Linked DNA regions of Homo sapiens: regions 1 and 3 are each linked to region 2. The links are contacts of gene promoters, found by promoter capture Hi-C in blood cells and fetal thymus (Javierre and others, 2016). All regions are on one chromosome and are shown on one strand. The core of a region is centred on a gene start or on the middle of the fragment in contact, and the rest is flanking DNA. Distances in the headings are between cores, read along the strand shown. Region 1 holds the start of MOGAT1 (monoacylglycerol O-acyltransferase 1). Region 2 holds the start of WDFY1 (WD repeat and FYVE domain containing 1). Region 3 overlaps ACSL3 (acyl-CoA synthetase long chain family member 3).

The links. The method cuts DNA at HindIII sites, captures the fragments that hold promoters and counts their contacts. A CHiCAGO score of 5 or more calls a contact.
Region 1: the fragment with the promoter of MOGAT1 here is called in contact with the fragment with the promoter of WDFY1 in region 2 in 4 of 17 cell types (M0 macrophages, M1 macrophages, M2 macrophages and 1 more); the score reaches 17.7 in M0 macrophages.
Region 3: a contact is called between a fragment that was not itself captured here and the fragment with the promoter of WDFY1 in region 2, in 2 of 17 cell types (M0 macrophages and total B cells). The highest score is 7.0, in M0 macrophages.

What each region holds. Positions count from the first base shown.
Region 1 is chr2:222,670,329-222,673,028 of GRCh38, reverse strand. MOGAT1 (monoacylglycerol O-acyltransferase 1) reads right to left here and starts at 1,371. Exons shown (of 6, transcript NM_058165.3): 1 at 1,150-1,371. The coding sequence starts at 1,243. LOC124907985 (a long non-coding RNA gene) reads right to left here. Exons shown (of 2, transcript XR_007088095.1): 2 at 2,027-2,393. The HindIII fragment of the contact is 3,409 bases long and covers 185-2,700 here.
Region 2 is chr2:223,943,932-223,946,631 of GRCh38, reverse strand. WDFY1 (WD repeat and FYVE domain containing 1) reads left to right here and starts at 1,297. Exons shown (of 12, transcript NM_020830.5): 1 at 1,297-1,484. The coding sequence starts at 1,348. It overlaps LOC124907989 (a long non-coding RNA gene), which reads right to left. Exons shown (of 2, transcript XR_007088100.1): 1 at 2,225-2,700. RefSeq lists a silencer at 1,546-1,725 and enhancers at 2,296-2,355, 2,366-2,485. The HindIII fragment of the contact is 5,306 bases long and covers 1-2,700 here.
Region 3 is chr2:222,910,773-222,913,472 of GRCh38, reverse strand. All of the region lies in intron 4 of ACSL3 (acyl-CoA synthetase long chain family member 3), which reads right to left. Among named protein-coding and RNA genes, the nearest start is that of ACSL3-AS1, 7.5 kb to the left of the region's middle. The HindIII fragment of the contact is 960 bases long and covers 825-1,784 here.

The sequences.
Region 1 (2,700 bases), core at 122-2,621, 1.3 Mb after region 2:
GGCAGAAGAATTACTTGAACCCGGGAGGCGGAGGTTGTGGTGAGCCGAGATGGCGCCACTGCACTCCAGCGTGGGCAACAAGAGTGAAACTCCGTCTCAAAGATAATAATAATAATAATAATAATAATAATAATAATAAACAAATTCCAGGATGGAGCCTGGGCATCTGCACTTTTTAGAAGCTTCTCCAGTGATTCTCATCTAGAGCCAGGGTTGAGAACCACTGATTCAGGCTTTCGAAATGTAAAAGCAGTTTTAAAAGTGTAAAACTCTCCAATGCAATGGGCTTATTACTATTATTACCACCCCAACGCTGTACAATCCATGATCTTACAGCATACACATGATCTTAGTCTTCAGAAGAGTTTATGTTTCAATAGAAGGGTCTCCCCCAAATTCCTCCCTCCTCCCACATCACCCCTATTTACTTCAAGAGCAGAACAAATATGAAGGAAAAAACAAAAAACAAAAAGAAAAACCACCCACGTTTTTGCCCCATCTAATGATTCGGCTCGTGTATGTTTCATGGGCTCAACTTGGGAACCAACTGGAACACACACGCTACTGAGTCAAACTATTTCCAGAGAGAAACCGCTCAACCAAATGCAATGAGTGGTGCAGCCTTCTTTACAGAAAGGTACTGCTATGCATCCAGGAAATCTCCAAAACGGGAAAGGGAACACTGCTCTTTGTCAGGAGGGTGGGGAGACAAAGAGGGAGAAGGAACAAGGTTTTAACTACTGAGGCATTACTTTGCCATCTATGAATCAACAGTTCGAGAAACGAGTTTGCCAACTTTTGAGGGGTTAAAGTGCTCATGCGTTCGATGGGGTCATGGTTACATTTTGGTAGATACAGTCGCCAAAAGTCATCGAGCTGTATCCGTATAACTGCGCCTTTTATTGTAGGCAAGGTGCACCTCAATTTAAAAAAGTAACGCAGGAGAAAATAAAATTAAACAGTCGTTAGCGATGAGGTTCTCGTGAGGAAACCAGAGTCCACGTTAGCTCCAAATGCCCTCTTTGACCTGCCTGCTCTGGCCGACAGGGGAACGAGGGTTGGAAGGTTCTATGCAGGTCCTGGAATCCGGACCGTCCCGAGGGAGGATATGGAGCCCAAGCCCCGCGGCCCGGGGGGCGGGGTCCTTACCGAGCAGCAGGTATTTCAGGACCCACTGCAGCACGGCCACCGTCTGCAGCCGCCGCGCCAGCTGGATGTTGAGCGGTGCAAACTCTACCTTCATGGCCTGGCCGGGCGAGGACGGCGCCAGCCACTGCAGCCTGCACCCACGCTGCTCTGCGGCGCCTGTGGGAAGTGCCCGGCCGGATCCGGGCCCCGCGCTGGGCACTGGCTGGGCGGAGAGGAAAAGGCAGAGGCTAGGCAGCGAGCGGGGACCCAACTGCGCCCTGGGTGGGAGGGCGCGCTGGGCTGAGGCTGGGGGCAGCCAATCACAAGCGCCGGGCGCCAGAGCTGGCCCAGCGCCCTGGCCCCGGAGCAGCTACAGCGGCCCGGGCGCATTGGCTGGCGCGCCGGGCGTTGGCGAGAGTGCGCCGCGTGGGACACGAGGGACGGGGAGAGGGGTCAACTGGCAGCCAGCCCGAGCCGGGCAGCGCGGGCTCCTGCCGCCTGGCTGAGGACCTGGGATCTCCACCAGGATCTGACCATTGTTCAGCTGATCGATCACCCAGCGCTTGCCTTCAGCATCCCACCCCTTCATTCGAACCCTCGGTGATTGGGGAAGGGTTAGTTTGAGGAATCGCACACCAGCTGGAGAGATGAGCGAGACTTGTTTCTTAGTTTATTGATCTGTGTCCCCCCGCAACCTCCAATTTCCCCGCGGATGGGGAAGGGGACCTGGCTTCCTCACTCTTGGGTCCTCAGTTCCCTACAGGAGCTCCGGGAATCTTTCACCCATTCATTCATTCAACCCACATTTATTGAGCACTTGCCACTTGCTGAGCACCATCCGGGCGCTTGGATAACCAAGCTGTCAAGCGCATCCGTGTGAAGAGACCACCAACAGGCATTGTGTGAGCAACAAGGCTGTTTATTCACTTAGGTGCAAGTCAGCTGAGTCCGAAAAAGAGTCAGCGAAGGGAGATGGGGAAGGGGTTGCTTTATAGGAGTTGTCTAGGTAATGGAAAATTACAGTAGAAGGTGGTTATCTATTGTTAGCAGAGGAAGGGGTCACAAGGTACAGGGTGGGGAGATCATAAGACTCATTGTCCAGAAGAAGAATGTCACAAAGTCGATTGATCGGCTAAGGTAGGGCAGGGACAAGTCACAATGGTAAAATGTTGTAATGTTGGTTAATCAGTTAAGGCAGGAACTGGCTGTTTTACTTCTTTGCGTTTTTTTTGGCTGCTCCAGGCTTCTTGGCTCCTGCAGGCCACCTGGATGTGTACATGCAGGTCACAGAGGTTATAATGGCTGAGCTTTGGCTCAGAGGCCTGACACAAGCTATTCATTGTCTTGTTCTCAGAGTACAGGGGGAAACAGACATAAGCAAAACAACTACACAATTTGGTGTATAATTACAAGTAAGACCCTACTGTGAATGACTAGAAGATTCCAAAACCAAGACTGCTGCACGGTCAGGGAAGTGTCTGAAGAAGTGCCCTTACTTGAGCTGTAGCCAAATCTAGTTAACCCAGGAGTCATCCGGGCAAAGGGAAGCACATATGCAAAGGTCCTGTGGCT
Region 2 (2,700 bases), core at 48-2,547:
TGATGAACTATATTACATCTTTTTTGTTTTGTGCTAAGTCTATAAAATCTTGTAGTATTTTGCACTTGTACTACATCTCAGTTTGGACAAGCCACATTTCAAGTGCTCTATAGTCATGTGGATAGTACGGTTCTAATGCAATTCTGCAATTCAGGTGTCAGAATAATATAGTGGGGCAGAAGTTTGGAGTCATTGACTTCCTGAGTCCAAATTTTGGCTCTTGAACTTACTGGTTGTCAATGACCTCTAGCCAAAAACCACCAGGAACAAATGGGGTTGATTGCTTGTTGGAGGGAGAAGACACACCATTGGGAATGGTGAGGTGTCTGGGTAAAGGGATGTTCGGACAGTTTTATTATAGGATTTGTGTTTGTGTTAGGTGACCTGGGAGAGCTTAAGGAAGAGAGGCTCTCCTGTGGACTGGATGTTGTCAGGAAATGCGTATAATTCTAAGGTTGCATATCTTAATAAATCTTATCTAAATGGAGGAAGACTAGATAGCGGTTAACATTATAATTAATAAAGAAATAAGAGTCACTCATATTAGCCAGGATAGGGGGATGTTTGGTAATTTCTGTGGCTTGTACATCGCTCATATTTTGGCCGTGTTTAGATGTGATTATGGAGTGGCCTCGTCTGATGTTTATGTTCCACAGGAAGCAAACACTTCCTAGCAACACCAAAGCTCAGCTGATAGTACCAGGCAGCTCCTGGAGATCAAGGGCTGCTTTTCTCCCTCTCATAGCTGTGCAACCTTAAGGTAGTGATCAAACTTCTCTGGTTGTTTTCTCATCTCTAAAATGGGAATACAAGAGCATCTATTTCATCTCTTAAAATTATCAGTATTAAATGAGATGCAAAGACACTGAGTTAATGCCTGGTATATGGTCACCACTCAGTGCTATCTATTGTAGTTCAAAGATTCTAAGATGCACTATATTTTTTCACATTTTAACATTTCTGAAAGTGTGTGCCTTTCAAACAATGGCTTCTTCAAATGGATGAAATGTAGTATTGTAATTTCTGAAATCTCTGGTTTGGGGGACAATTCCTTGTCCCCTCCAGGTGCTCAATTTATTCCTGGGTGAATGGCTTTACTTTTAAACCTTCCTTACTTTCCCCATTTCTCCGCAGGCGCCCCGTGGCATCCTCTCCCAGCCACAGACTTTCAGCTTGCGCGGCATCCCCAGGCAATACGGGCGGTGCGGCGGCAGCACTCGGGGGCTTACGGCGGCGCGGCGCCCAAGAGGCCCCAGCAGCCGAAGGGAAACCGGCGCGTCCCCCGCCCGCCCAGGCGTCAGCTGATGGGCTGCCTGCCGAGGAGGCCGCAGCAGTCGCCGCGCGAACATGGCGGCCGAAATCCACTCCAGGCCGCAGAGCAGCCGCCCGGTGCTGCTGAGCAAGATCGAGGGGCACCAGGACGCCGTCACGGCCGCGCTGCTCATCCCCAAGGAGGACGGCGTGATCACGGCCAGCGAGGACAGGTAGGGCCCGGGCGCAGCCGGGGCGGCCCGAACTCCGCGACGACGGGGTGTGGGGGCGGTGGGGTCCGCGGCCCCGGTCCTTCCTGCGTGAGGGGGCTCCCCCGGCAGCACGGCCCCACCCCCACTCTGCGCCCCTTAGCTCCGCCGGGTTCCCGGTTCCCTCCCGCCGGTCCTCCAGCCTCGACTTGCACCTTTCCAGCCTGGGACCCCGGTCTCGCCGCGCCCCTCCAGCCCGGATCCCCTGTCCCACCGCGCCCCTCCAGCCCGGGAACTCCGTCTCACCGCGCCGCCCAAGCCCGGGACCCTTGTTCCAACGTGTCTTTCCAGCCCAGGACCCCTGTTCCAGTGCGCCCTACCGCGCCCCTCCCAGCCCACCTCGCCCCTCCTGCTCAGGACCCCTGTTCCAATGCTCCCCAACGCGCCCCTCCAGTCCGGGACCCTTGTCCCACTGCGCCCGTCCATCCCGGGAGCTCCGTCCCACCGCGCCCCTCTAGCCCGGATCTTCTGTCCCACTGCGCCCCTCCAGCCCGGGAACTCTGTCCCACCGCGCCACTCAAGCCCGGGACCCCGGTTCCAGTGCGCCCCAACGCACCTCTCCAGCCCAGGACCTCTGTCTCACCGCGCCCCTCCAGCGCGGGAACTCTGTCTCACCGCGCTGCTCAAGCCGGGGACCCCTGTTCCAGTGCGCACCAACGCGCCCCTCCCAGCCCACCGCGCTCCTCCAACCAGGGAACCCCGACCTGCGGTGTCGCACTAGCCTGGGACCTTCGTCCCGGTCTCTCTCCCTGGCGGGGTTTAGCCTGGTACTCGGAAGGTGTTTCTTGGCCCTCCCGGGTCAGTTCCAAATCGTCTCCTCTGGAAGCGTGGAGGACCGGCGGCTGGTCACTGCGGACCCTGGTGCCCGGGGCTTGCTTCTTTGCGAGGAACTCCAGCCGCCTTCGCTCTCTTCCTCCCCCTGTACTCAGGGATTTCACGCCACGCCAGGCCTCTAGATCAGTTATTTTTGCCACGGCTGCTAGAATCACCTGAACTCTTATTTACTAAATAGGTTTTTGTGAAAGTGACTCATTTTTAAAAATATTTGGATGCATTTATTTTAAAAGGAAATCTTATTTATTAGGAAAACTAACATTACTCACCAGACAGAGTAAACTAATAACTAAAACATGTTAATTGGCATGCACACAGAGTCCTCTCTTGCACTGTGACATCTTGC
Region 3 (2,700 bases), core at 55-2,554, 1.0 Mb after region 2:
GAAAGGAGAGGGACAGTTTGGAAGGGGAAACTAAGAGAAGAGTAATATAATAACCAACCCACAAATCCCAGCCAAGAGACTGACCATAATTTGTTACATATAGCATGATGCAAATGTCCTAATAAATCAGAAAATAAGTTTTATACACATACACAAACAGGGTAAAAAAATGTGACTAAGAAATAACACAAAAGACGGCATTAAGAAAGAGGAAAAGAAAGCTAAGTCAACTTACAAGGACATAAATGAGTGTTTCTATTATCTTTTTGGATCAATTTAGAAGGAATGTCATAGTGAAGTCTTCTCTAAGCACCATATTACATAATCCCTCATTCTCTTCTTATTTTTATAAAATATCTAAGAAAAAATCAAGTGTTTCTGATGGCTCACAAAGTATATGAGCCAGCTTGTACTCTTTTCTGTTTCTATTTTTAGTCTTTGCAGCTTTGTTCTATTTCAGGTATACATGTATTTTAAGGTTGTCCTGAAATCATTTCACTGTTCATTTCAAGACGACGTTAGTGCAATGCATTTACTGCTGGGAACACTGGAATCAGGTGATGCTGACACAGGTTCCAGCTCTTAACTCTGCTACAGTTTTATAAAACCATATGAAACTTAAAAGGACCCTGAAAAGGCCTGCCAAGCAACCAAGTGCCTTTTGTTTTTCTGTCCCCCAAGGAAGAATCTGGTCGTAGTGAAGCTGGTGGCTACTCTACCTTGGACACAACGAGAGCAGGGTCATCGCCACTGCCTTTTTTCATCCACTCATCCTCCCCTCAGGACCTCAAAATAGACTGTTGGGATAAGATGGAAACAAAGCTTCAAAGTTCATTAATTTGAAATAAGGCTTGTGCATCTTTCCTTCAACCATATCAGATACAACATTCTGGGGTTAATCCCCAAAAGTCTTACTCAAAAAATATTTTAAATATTGCTACAACATTCGTTTTCTTTTCCAGTTGAAGATTATCTTCAAATATGGAAACTATTTAATGAAGACACACTTCACTGAGCTTGATCAGCTAGCAGGCACTAATAGCAGAAAGTACACAGCTTAACCCACCAGTTGTGAAAGTTCCCCTTTTCAACACCCTAGGCAGATGCTGCTACTGATGCAATGCAATGGGTGTAACAAGAAACCAAGAGAGGGGAAAACGAAAAAGGCCTAGCATGTTTAACATGCAGCTGAGATACCCACTCTGCAGTCTGCAGATCACTGCCACAGCTGCAACACAGAATGAACAGAAACTAAAGCCTCAGCTAACCAGCGACACTGCACACTTTCTTCTTGAGTATGGCCAAGAGAAACTACTTGTTTCATTTATTATATGCAAAATCTAAAAATTAATTCTACTTTCCCAATGAACCTAAAGAAAACTATAACATGTTCCCAAGACACAGTCTAGACACAGCCTTCTGAACAAAGTTTGATGAACCACAAATGCCAATTTCATAGCAAATGCTAGTAGGCAGATCTTCTGACATATAGAAATTCAAAACCTCCTTTTACTAACTAAATAAAACTTCACAGTAATGAACTATAGACAGAAAAAGTTGCTAAAAAACAGTCTGTCTCACCTAACTTTTATGAGTTCAAATACTTCATACTTTGTTGAATAATCATTGAATACAAAGGCACTATGGTTAAGATAAGCAGGAAAGAGCCACATACACTTACACACGCACATTTAGGAAACAACTATCATAGCTCTAGGATTTTATTTTGTCCAGTTATACTGATACACGAATTAGGAAGAAATTTCATATTCACCACATAAGCTTTTCTTCTTTTTACACAATTGAGAACTAGTTTGCTGCTGTACATACCGAATGACGACTGAAAGACAATACTAGCCACATTAAAATGAATAAAATATGTGTGGGATACCGGAGAAAAACGAAGCTTCCTGAAACATAAGACTTCTGTATATATGCTTAGACTAAAAGAGAATCCAACCTTTGAATTCAAATAGCATATCAAAGACAAAAAAATGAATCTATAAGCAGATAGAAAAGTAGAAAACTTTTGCACATAAAAATGTACTGTTTTCAGTACCTTCTCATAACTACCCGATTTCTCAAAAACAGACTCAAGAACAGAGTGCCATAAAAAGCTGTGCTGGTTGGGCGCTGTGGCTCATGCCTGTAATCCCAGCACTTTGGGAGGCCGAGGTGGGCGGATCACCTGAGGCTGGGAGTTCGAGACCAGCCTGACCAACATGGAGAAACCTTGTCTCTACTAAAAACACAAAATTAGCCGGACGTGGTGGCGCATGCCTGTAATCCCAACTACTCGGGAGGCTGAGCCAGGACAATCACTTGAACCCAGAAGGCGGACGTTGCGGTGAGCTGAGACGGCACCATTGCACTCCAGCCTGGGCAACAAGAGTGAAACTCCATCTCAAAAAAAAAAAAAAAAAAAAAGGCAGTGCCAGATATGTAAATATGACAAAAGCAAACTTCATTATGATAAAATGTTTTGGAAATTACAATCCATAGGCTGGAAAAGAAAAATCAAACATGCTTAACTCATGATTTCAATTTCTAGAAATGTGCTATTAACTTCAGCGAGATCTTAAATAGAAAAAAATTCAGTTTTTTCTAAGTCTGCAAAAGAAATAGGGAATATGTCTTAAAAATAAGGTGACCACATAACTATCCAAACTAGGGCACTTTTGAGACTGTAAGGGGGCACTA